Linked DNA regions of Homo sapiens: region 2 is linked to region 1. Evidence: promoter capture Hi-C in human tissues and cell types (Jung and others, 2019). All regions are on one chromosome and are shown on one strand. Each heading gives the region's core, a stretch centred on a gene start or on the middle of the fragment in contact. The rest is flanking DNA. Distances are from core to core; before and after follow the strand shown. Region 1 has its middle 41 kb from the start of OCM. Region 2 holds the start of OCM (oncomodulin).

The links. Contacts are between HindIII fragments. The study calls those that stand out against the background at their distance.
Region 2: a contact is called between the fragment with the promoter of OCM here and a fragment that was not itself captured in region 1, in 1 of the 25 tissues and cell types used here (mesenchymal stem cells).

Annotation. Positions count from the first base shown.
Region 1 is chr7:5,837,509-5,843,014 of GRCh38, reverse strand. It overlaps the pseudogene ZNF815P. Among named protein-coding and RNA genes, the nearest start is that of OCM, 41 kb to the left of the region's middle. The HindIII fragment of the contact is 6,166 bases long and covers 1-5,360 here.
Region 2 is chr7:5,879,548-5,884,974 of GRCh38, reverse strand. It overlaps OCM (oncomodulin), which reads right to left and starts at 4,177. Exons shown (of 4, transcript NM_001097622.2): 1 at 4,025-4,177; 2 at 2,350-2,482; 3 at 976-1,085. The coding sequence starts at 4,085. The HindIII fragment of the contact is 18,194 bases long and covers 1,076-5,427 here.

The sequences.
Region 1 (5,506 bases), core at 1,028-3,527:
GTTTTCTGCAGCAGAAACTTGGTGATCAGCATCAATCAATGCCACACGAAGGTGAGCTGGGAGGGAGACAGCAGTGATTTAACCTCATCAAGTTGGCCGGGCGCAGTGGCTCACGCCTGTAATCCCAGCACTTTAGGAGGCTGAGGCGGGCGGATCACGAGGTCAGGAGATCGAGACCATCCTGGCCAACATGGTGAAACGGTATCTCTACTAAAAATACAAAAATTAGCCAGGCATGGTGGTGCGCACCTGTAGGCCCAGCTACTCGGGAGGCAGAGGTTGCAGTGAGCCGAGATCATGCCACTACACTCCAGTGTGGGCAACACTGGATTATTTATTCAAAAACAAATAAATAAAGTCATTAAGTACACTAAAGGACAGCAATGGCTTTCACCAGTTTGTGGGTGTGAAGAAGAGAGAGGCGACTAAATTATACGTGTAGAAAATATGTTTTTGAGGCATTTCACAGTAAAAGAAAACGATGAAAAGAAGAACAAATAGCACAAAATAACAGCTATTTTAACATAGGGCAGATCAATGAATCTCTGAACACAGGAGAAAACCTGTTTTATAACCACAGGGAAAATACTGAAGATTCTACAGGAAGACTTGGCAATCGAGGTCTTAGTGGGGGACAGCAGAGCAGAATCAAAGGACAAATGAAAATAGATGGTCAGGCATATGGCTCATGCCTGTAGTCCCAGCTACTTGGGAGGCTAAGGCAGGAGGATCGCTTGAGCCTAGGAGTTTGAGACCATCCTGGACGACATAGGGAGACCCCATCTCTACAAAAATGAAAAAAAAAATGAGCTCAGTGGCTCAGTGTGATGGCATGTGCCTGAAGTAGCAGCTACTAAGGAGGCTGAAGTAAGAGGATCACTTGAGCCCAGGAGTTGGAGGCTGCAGTGAGCTACCATCACTCCACTGCACTCCAGTCTGGGTGAAAAAGCAAGACAGTCTCTCAAAACAAGAAAAAAGAGGGCCAGGCGTGGTGGCTCACGCCTGTAATCCCAGCACCTTGGGAGGCAGAGGTGGGAGGGTCATCTGAGGTCAGAAGTTCAAGACCAGCCTGGCCAGCCAACATAGCAAAACCCCATCTCTACTGAAAAAAAAAAAAAAAAAAAAAAAATTTAGCCGAGCATGGTGGTGGCACGTGCTTGTAATCCCAGCTACTCAGGAGGCTGAAGCAGGAGAATCACTTCAACCTGGGAGGCGGAGGTTGCAGTGAGCCAAGATCGTACCACTGTACTCGAGCCTGGGCAACAGCCAGACTGTCTCAAAAAAAAAAAAAACAAAAAAAAGAAAAAAAAAAGAAAAAAATAGACTATGCCTTTCTCTAAAATCCAGAGACAGGAAAGGAATCGTGTAGTGATGTGTGCAGGTGGCAGGATCACTAAGGCATCTCAAGGTTTAAGGCCAAATGTCCACAGCTGCTTGCAAAGATCCAGGGTTTTTTTTTTTTTTTTTTTTTGAGATGAGTCTCGCTCTGTCACCCAGGCTGGAGCACAGTGGCACAATCTCGGCTCACTGCAACCTCTGCTTCCCAGGTTCAAGCGATTCTCCTGCCTCAGCCTCCTGAGTAGCTGCAACTACAGGTGCGTGCCACCACACCCAGCTAATTTTTAGTAGAGACGGGGTTTCACCGTGTTAGCCAGATGGTCTTGATCTCCTGACCTCATGATCCACCCACCTTGGCCTCCCAAAGTGCTGGGATTACAGGTGTGAGCGACCATGCCCAGCCAAGATCCCAAGCTTTTAAGAACAGTTGCCTGAAACAAGAGGACATCCGGCTAGGCGCCATGGGTCACGCCTGTAATCCCAGCACTTTGGGAGGCCAAGGCAGGTGGATCACCTGAGTTCAGGAGTTTGAAACCAGCCTGACCAACATGGTGAAACCCAGTCTCTACCAAAAATACAAAATAAGTCACACATGGTGGCGGGCACCTGTAATCCCTGCTACTCAGGAGGCTGAGGCAGGAGAATGGCTTGAACCTGGGAGGTGGAGGTTGCAATGAGCTGACATCGCACCACTGCACTCCAGCCTGGGCAACTGAGCGAGACTCCATCTCAAAAAACAAAACAAGACAACATCCATGGGTTCTGCTTTGCAGACTTCCAGGAGCCTCATCCCCCGGCCCCCTGCAGGCCACCTGCTCACCTGGGAAGCTCCACGTCCTTATCTCTTCCTCCTCCATCCATGGCTCCTTCCCCTGCTCCAAACTGGAGATCACAGCTGGTTTGCTGACTTGACACCCTCTTGGGGAGAAACGGTTAAAGGATTTGTGCTGAGCCAGCTGGGCCTTCCAAGCAAGCAGACAGTTCAGCCTGCAAAACAAAAGGTGGACATCTCAGCCACAGAGAGCTGTTTCGCTTGGCAGGTAACTTCACGAGGACTCCAAGTGGGATCGAGACTCTGACCACTGAAACCCAAGGCCAAGCACTTTTATTTTTCACACAGGGTCTTGCTCTGTTGCCCAGGCTGGAGTGAAGTGGCACAATCACAGCTCACTGCAGCCTCAACCTCCTGCACTCAAGTGATCCTCCCATCTCAGCCTCCCGAGTAGCTGGGACTACAGGCAGGCATCACCACCCTCAACTAATTTTTTAATGTTTTGGTAGAGATGGGGTTTTGCCATGTTGCCCAGGCAAGTCTTGAACTTGGGCCTCAAGGGATCCTTCCATTTGAGACTCGCAAGTAGCTGGGACTGCAGGCACATGCCACCATGCCTGGCTAATTTTTTATTTTTCGTTTGTATAGATCGGGTCTTGCACCTGTGGCTCAAGCAATCCTCCCACCTCGGCCTCCTGAAGTGCTGGGATCACAGGCATGAGCCACCATGCCCAGCTTAGCACTTTCAGTGCGTGAGCAGTTTCCCAGTTTTATACAACTAAGAAAAAGAGTTCATGTAACCCGAGGACCACGGGGAAGTCTTCCTCACCCACAGAGAGCAGGTGGCTGTAGTTCTCCAGCATCACATCCTGGTACAGGGTCCTCTGCTCCAGGTCCAGCTGCTGCCACTCTTTCCGGGTGAAGCCCACAGCCACGTCCCCGAATGACAGTGACCCCTGGAACAGCACATGGCTGATTAATGTGGAGTGGTTGGCACTGGGTACCATGGCAAAGGCGTAGAGGAGATTGATCTTACCCCCTTCCGAGGTCAGCTTTCCCCATATTAGGTTACATAGAAAGCTGAGCACACCCCTAACTTTGTACTACACTTTGTGGAAGAGAAAAAAAAAATTGTTAGAAAAAATATCAACCGGGTGCAGTGGCTCACGCCTGTAATCCCAGCACTTTGAGGGGCTGAGACAGGTGGATTGCTTGAGGTTAGGAGTTTGAGACCAGCGTGGCCAACATGGTGAAACCCCATCTCTACAAAAAATATATTAGATGGACGTGCTGGTGGGTGCCTGTAATCCCAGCTACCAGGGAGGCTCAGGCAGGAGAATTGCTTCAACCCAGGAGGCGTAGCTTGCAGTGAGCTGAGATCCCGCCCTTGCACCCCAGGCTGTACAACAGAGTGAGACTCCATCTCAAAAATAAATAAATAAATCTCACTACTGGATCTCCATTCATTCCTTCAATGATCAAGTGTCTTTCAGGGACCTCGCACACTGCTGGTGTTCTACCAGGCGCTTGGGGTCGAGGGCTGAACACAAAATTGTTCCTGTTCTGAAGGTAGTTAGGAGTGTTGCTGCCAGATGAACACAGGAAGACAGCTGTACCGTAAGATTACACTATAGGCGGTGGTAGACATGTAGTTACATACAGAATGGGCACGAGGAAGACAGCAGCCAGATCCAACGTACTGTCAAGTGAAGCTTCCTAGGAGATCACAGGGGAGTAGAATCACGAAAGATAAACAGAATGATCTGATGTCTGAAGGATATTCCTAGCAAGAGGCCTGGCATGGGCAAAGGAGGCACAGAAAAGTCTCGTAGAAACTACAAAGAGAATGAAAATGCCGGGTGTAAGGCGTGTGTGGGAGAGGGAGAGAGCGTACCAGCCACGGGTAGAAGTGATTTTTTTTTTCCCTGTAGGAAATGCAGACTCCCACCTCACGGTATTTACGGAGGGGAACTACAGATGATCTGATGTGGAAAAAAGGTGGGAGCCACCGGAAGGGAGGATAGCAGGAGCTAAATTATCACATGATTCTAATCCTCAATGTAAGCTAGTGCTCAAAATTAAAACAGCAAGAGAAATGCAGAGAAGGGGTTCCACAGATGCAGAACAGGGCTTGGCCTCCTTCACCCATCCCATCCCCTCTCTCAATGAATTAAAGACCCCCATTTAAACATCTTCAATTTATACCTATTAGAAAATATGAGGATGTATATAAAATATATATATAACATATAGATATTATCTATTTATATATTATATAGAGATATATATAGAGAGAAAGAGAGATTTTCTATTTTGGAGAGGGTGTTCCACTCTTGTCACGCAGGCTGGAGTGCAATGGTGCCACCTTGGCTCACCGCAACCTCTGCCTGCTGGGTTCAAGCAATTCTCTTGCCTCAGCCTCCTGAGTAGCTGGGATTACAGGCTTGTGCCACCACACCTGGCTAATTTTGTATTTTTAGTAGAGACAGGGTTTCTCCACGTTGGTCAGGCTGGTCTCGAACTCCTGACCTCAGGTGATCCACCTGTCTCAGCCTCCCAAAGTGCTGGGATTACAGGTGTGAGCCACTGCCCCTGGCCTTAGATCTTCTCTTTTTGGGACAGGGTCTCTCTCTGTCCAGGCTGGAGTGCAGTGGTGTGATCATGGCTCGCTGCAGCCTCTACCTCCTGGGTTTAAGTGATCCTCTCGCCTCAGCCTCCCGAGTAGCTGGGATTACAGGCATAGGCCAGCTGGTTTTATTTAAATTTTTTGTAGAGTTGGGGTCTCACTATGTTGTTTAATCAAAGTTTAAATAATTTGAAGGAGATCAGACAGGGTGGCTCACGTCTGTAATCCCAGCACTTTGGGAAGCCGAGGCAGGTGGATCACTTGAGGGCAAGAGTTCAAGACCAGCCTGGCCAACATGGTAAAACCCCATCTCTACTAAACATACAAAAAAAAAAAAAATTAGCTGGGCATGGTGCCAGGCACCTGTAATCCCAGCTACTCGGGAGGCAGGAGAAACACTTGAACCCAGGAGGCGGAGCTTACAGTGAGCCGAGATCGTGCCACTGCACTCCAGCCTGGGTGACAGAGCAAGAGTCTGTCTCAAAAAAAAAAAAAAAAAAAAAAAAAAAAGTATGTGAGAGTCGGGGGGCTTTCATCACTGTGGCAGAGGTCAAGGGGGGATGCTGGGTATAAAGAGCTGTGGTGGGCCCCCTGGACACATGCTGCTGGGGTGATGACGGATGTTCATAGGCAAATGGGCGACCCAAATTGTCCCCAGTGGTGAGACAAGCGCGTGCAGAGGAGGGGCAACAAGCAGGGCACAGCCCGGGGGCAGCAGCAGGGACCGGGAGCTATGTGGGAGTGGGGAGAGGCAATCCACAAAGAAGCCC
Region 2 (5,427 bases), core at 2,928-5,427, 40 kb before region 1:
CTAATTTTTTATATTTTCAATAGAGATGGGGTTCACCATGTTGGTCAGTCTAGTCTTGAACTCCCGACTTCAGGGGATCTGCCCACCTTGGCCTCCAAAATTGCTGGGATTATAGGCCTGAGCCACCACGCCCAGCCCCTGGTTATGTTTAAATAAGGCAATCCCCCCTTACCTAATCTGTTTTTATGAGCTATCTATCTGCATTAACTCCCATGTAGTAAGCGATAGTGGTATAATTTTGAACAGGTTTTTTTTTTTTTAATAAGCATCTAACGTAGCAGTTTTAAATTTCAAATTAGCACCACCAGAAGGACCATCATATGTTCTGCTGAGTTGGCAGGCACAAAGCAGTTAAAAAGCACGCTAGCAACATGACAAAATCAAGTGAAAATAGTCCTACAGCTGTGCTAGTGTATTCTAAAGCTCAAACCTAGGATTCGGCCTATGGAAGACTCAATAAATGAGGTTGGCTTATTTGTTCTCTGTTTAATATTATCCCCTTGGCGGGCTAATGTCCAATAAAATATATTTGTCTAAACCCTTGAAGACGAAGAGGGCTTCCTACGCATGCCAATGGACCCTGGTCTGAGGATGTAAATCTTTCCCTTATTCTGAGGGGTTCAAACCCCACTGGTAGAAATACCTCGCGCTTTATGCAGGTGCATTATGGTTGGCAGGTGCAAATAATTGGCCAGGTGGCTAGCTAGTCCCCTAGTCAGGTGAAGGATATTTTGCAGCTCATAGACAATGACCAGTGTGACCAGCTTCTATAGTACCTACCGAGCATTATGCCAGGGTTTTTACACACATCATTTGCATCCTTACTTTAGTCCCATTTTACAGATGAGAAGACTGAGGCTCGGTAAGTTTAAGAAAGGGAGATTTTAAGCCACATTGGTTTGATCTCACAGCCCAAGCCCTCACGGATGCTTCCTGAGCTAGAGTGTTTTATGCTACGTACACGTGTGGACATACCCTCTGCTCCAATTTTCCCATCTCCATCATTATCCGCCGCAGCCATCAAGGACTTGGTTTCTGACTCGGTCAGTTCTCTGGCACCACTCTCAAACTTCTGGAGGAAAAACCTACAGGATAATAAAGATCCATGGGGATTTTCAAAAAGATCATGCATCTCTGTGTTTACACTTTTGTTTTTCCTCTAAGCATATCACCTGTTTCCAGCACCGGCAATAATTAACCAAGGTCTTAGCAAGCAAAGGTTTCCTTAAGCTGTAGAAACCAATGGTGGGCACTTCATTTTTAAGGTTTTGTTTGTTTGTTTGTTTTTGAGACAGGGTCTTGCTCTGTCACCCAGGCTGGAATGCAGTGATACCATCATGGCTCACTGCAGCCTCGACTTCCTGGGCTCAATCAATCCTCCTGCCTCAACCTCCTGAGTAGCTGGGACTACAGGTGCACCCCACCATGCCCCACTAACATTTGTATTTTTTTTTGTAGAGACAAGGTTTTGTCATGTTCCCCAGACTGGTCTGGAACCCCTGGGCTCACTCAAGCAATCCACCCACCTCAGCCTCCCAAAGGGCTGGGATTGTAGGTGTGAGCCACAGTGCCTGGCCCATTTTTAAGTTTTTAGTGTTTTTAATTTTTATTTATTTATTTATTTGAGACAGAGTCTCTCTCTGTCACCCAGGCTGGAGTGCAGCTGCACGATCTGGGCTCACTGCAACCTCTGCCTCCTGACTTCAAGCAATTCTTGTGCTTCAGTCTTCTGAGTAGCTGGAATTACAGGCGTGAGCCACTGCGCTTAGCCAAGTTTTTAGTTTTTTAAAGTCCATTTGCCAAAGGAAATCCCTTACATGAAAGAATCTTTGTGGCTGGGCACAGTGACTCACACCTGTAATCCCAGCACTTTGGGAGGCCAAGGCAGGAGGATCACTTGAAGTCAGGAGTTTGAGACCAGCCTGGCAACATAGTGAAGCCCCATCTCTACTCTAAATATGAAAATGAGCTGGATGTGGTGGCAGGCACCTGTAATCCCAGCCACTTGGGAGACTGAGGCATGAGAATCACTTGAATTTGGAAGGCGGAGGCTGCAGGGAGCTGAGATCACCCCACTGCACTCCAGCCTGGGCAACAGAGTGAGGCCCTGTCTCAAAAAAAAAAAAAAAAAAAAGAATCTTTGCACCTGCAGTCTTCTCTGCCCATATTGAGGGCTTTGCATGGGTAGATGTGCGGTCAACTGACTCATGTCCTTTGCTTTAATGATGCTTGGCCGAATGACCAACACCAAGGCTGGCCATTGAAGAAATACTGAGCAACCTGGCCCCCACTGCACCCCAGGCCCACTCAGCAGTGCCGGGTACCAGACAGACTCAGGACAAAGCTTACTTAAGCTCTTCTTCATCCAGGTACCCGCTCTGGTCGTTGTCTATGAACCGGAAAACATCCTTCACCTGATTGGCTGACATCTTGGAGAGGCCTGATGTCTGGAAGAATTTTTGGGGTTCAAAAGTGTCTGGGTCTGAAGAACAGAGAATTGGTTATTCTGACGCTTGTTGGATCACATTCTATGTTGGGGCCAAGGTACTAAAAACACAGATAATTAAAAACACTTCAACAATATCCCTGAGCTACGGGGATGCTCAACTGGTCCAAGATTTTGGGACAGCCAAGACTTGATGGCTCTGTGATGGCATCCCATGTCCCCTCCGCCCCAGTCTTCCCTCCTCCACTTGGTTTTGTCCATTTTCCTTTTCCCTCCTCATCTCTTCTGTGCCTCCCCCTCCCCCTGGCCCACTTTACAGGCTGTGTGGCTGAGCCCCCAGCATCCCTGGTCTAATTGGTAGGGGGAAATGCAATCACTGGATTTCAACAGGCTAAATGGCCTTTGGCGCTTTTTTTTTTTTTTTTTTTTTTTTTTTTTTTTTTGAGACAGAGTCTCACTCTGTCACCAGGCTGGAGTGCAGTGGCGTGATCTCGGCTCACTGCAACCTCTGCCTCCCGGGTTCAACTGATTCTCCTGCTTCAGCCTCCCAAGTAGCTGAGATTACAGGTGTGCACCCCCATGCCCAGCTCATTTTTGTATTTTTAATAGAGACAGGGTTTTGCCATGCTGGCCAGGTTGGTCTTGAACTCCTGACCTCAAGTGATGCACCGGCCTCGGCCTCCCAAAGTGTTGGGATTACAGGTGTGAGCACGACACCTGGCCTTTCAGTGATGTCTTGCTTTCATGTTTAGTAGGTTTCTTTTGTCTTACAGATGTGTAATCGTGTGCTCAGATCCCAGATCTCTATAATTTTAGTTATCTAATAAATAGCAGTTTTCTTCTCTGATTCCATGAATTTTCCAGCCAACCTCTTATTTATTTATTTATTTATTTATTTAGAGCCAGAGTCTCACTCTGTCGTCCAAGCTGGAGTGCAGTGTAGCGATCATAGCTCACCACAGCCTCAACCTCCTGGGCTTCAGTGATCCTCCTACCTTAGTTTCCAGAGTAGCTGGGACCACAGGCACATGCCACCATGCCCCGCTAGTTTTTATTTTTATTGTTATGTTGTAGAGATGGAGTCTTCCTATGTTGCCCAGGCTGGTCTCAAACTCCTGGGCTCAAACAGTCCTCTCACCTTGGCCTCCAAAAAGTGTTGGGATTACAGATGTGAGCCACCATGCCTGGTCTACTTTTTTTTTTTTTTTTTGTAGACAGAGTCTTGCTCTGTTGCCCAGGCTGGAGTGCAGTGGCATGATCTCAGCTCACTGCAACTTCTGCCTCCCGGGTTCAAGCAATTCTCTGCCTCAGCCTCCCGAGTAGCTGGGATTACAGGCACCCACCACCACGCCCGGTTAATTTTTTTGTATTTTTAGTAGAGATGGGGTTTCACCATCTTGGCCAGGCTGGTCTCGAACTCCTGACCTCGTGATCCACCCGCCTCGGCCTCCCAAAGTGCTGGGATTACAGGTGTGAGCCACTGCGTCTGGCCGCCTGGCCTACATTTTGATTTTGTGTTGACTCGCTGGAGGTGCAAAGCTGTGAGGAAATCCCACCCCCGCCTCACGTCCCCTCTACCTCGGCATTCCTGGAGCGCTGCTGCAATGTCGTCAGCACTGAGCACGTCCGTGATGCTCATTTTCTACCTACTCACACAGAATAAATGAGAGGCGATAAGCCACAAACAGGAATGTGCACATCCAGGGGAAACACATCTTCCCAGGCCCACTGAAACTGTATGTGTGTCTAGATTATTTTTTTTTTTAAATTAAGACGGAGTCTCACTCTGTCACCCAGGCTGGAGTGCAAGAGCGTGATCTCGGCTCACCGCAACCTCCGCCTCCTGGGCTCAAGTGATTCTCCTGCCTAAGCCTTCCCAGTAGCTGGGATTACAGGTGCGCACTACCATGCCTGGCTAATTTTTGTGTTTTTAGTAGAGACGGGGTTTTGCCATGTTGGCCAGGCTGGTCTTGAGCTCCTGACCTCAGGTGATCTGCCTGCCTTGGCCTCACAAAGTGCTGGGATGACAGATGCAAGCCACCGAGCCAGGCCTGTCTAGAATTTTTAAAATGTGATAAGCATGGTTTTGTATTAAGTGACGGGACAGAATATCCAAATTAAAACCAGATACGGAAAACACCCCAGCCTTTTTTGTCTCAGAGCCTTCTTTTGAATACATGCCAAAAATGGAAAAAAAAAATGACCCAAAGAAGGATTCAATTGTTTTCTTATAAAAATTATACTGACATAATCAGTCATTTGCATAGGCAGCCGTAAACCATGTTACACATGCACTGGCATTTTCCTACAGCAGCCCGAGAGATGCAATGTTGCAAATTCCACGTGGGAAAGGATACAGTTTGGGCTGCTTGCAGACATTCTGTGGAAGAAGGCATGCACCTGTCCTGAAAGGTGGGAAGCAGATGGATGAAAAGCCCATCTCCCAGAGATTAAAATCCTTCCAGGTGTCAGAGCCACCGGAAAACAGGAGTCTAAGCACCTGAGCCTAATATGAATGCATGCAGTGAAGAAAAGAGTCTGGGGTCTGATGTGTCCACCAGTTACTCACCGTTTTCGGTTTCCCCCCAGGAAGAATCAGGAAAAAGAGTTGAAGGAGCAAAACAACAGATGTGTTTTTGCTACCTTACTGACCTACCTTATATAGGCTAGAAAAAGTGATAGTTACAACCTCTTAGATTTCCTTTTCAAGGATCAAGTGGATGCAGCTCAAATGTCTTGTCTTACTCATGAAACCTCTTTTTTTTTTTTTTTCTATTTATGTCTCAAGGGAATGTGGGTGGGAACAGCCAATTGTAAAAAAAAAAAAAAAACAACAACAAACTTCAACAAACCTTAACTAAGATTTCAATTCTGCAAACGAACCCTGTTGGCAAAGTGTGGAGAAGGTTCTAGATGCCTGGTAAGGTGGAGATGGTGGCCTGAACTAAGACAAACACATACAGGGTGCTCTGTAAGCTGAA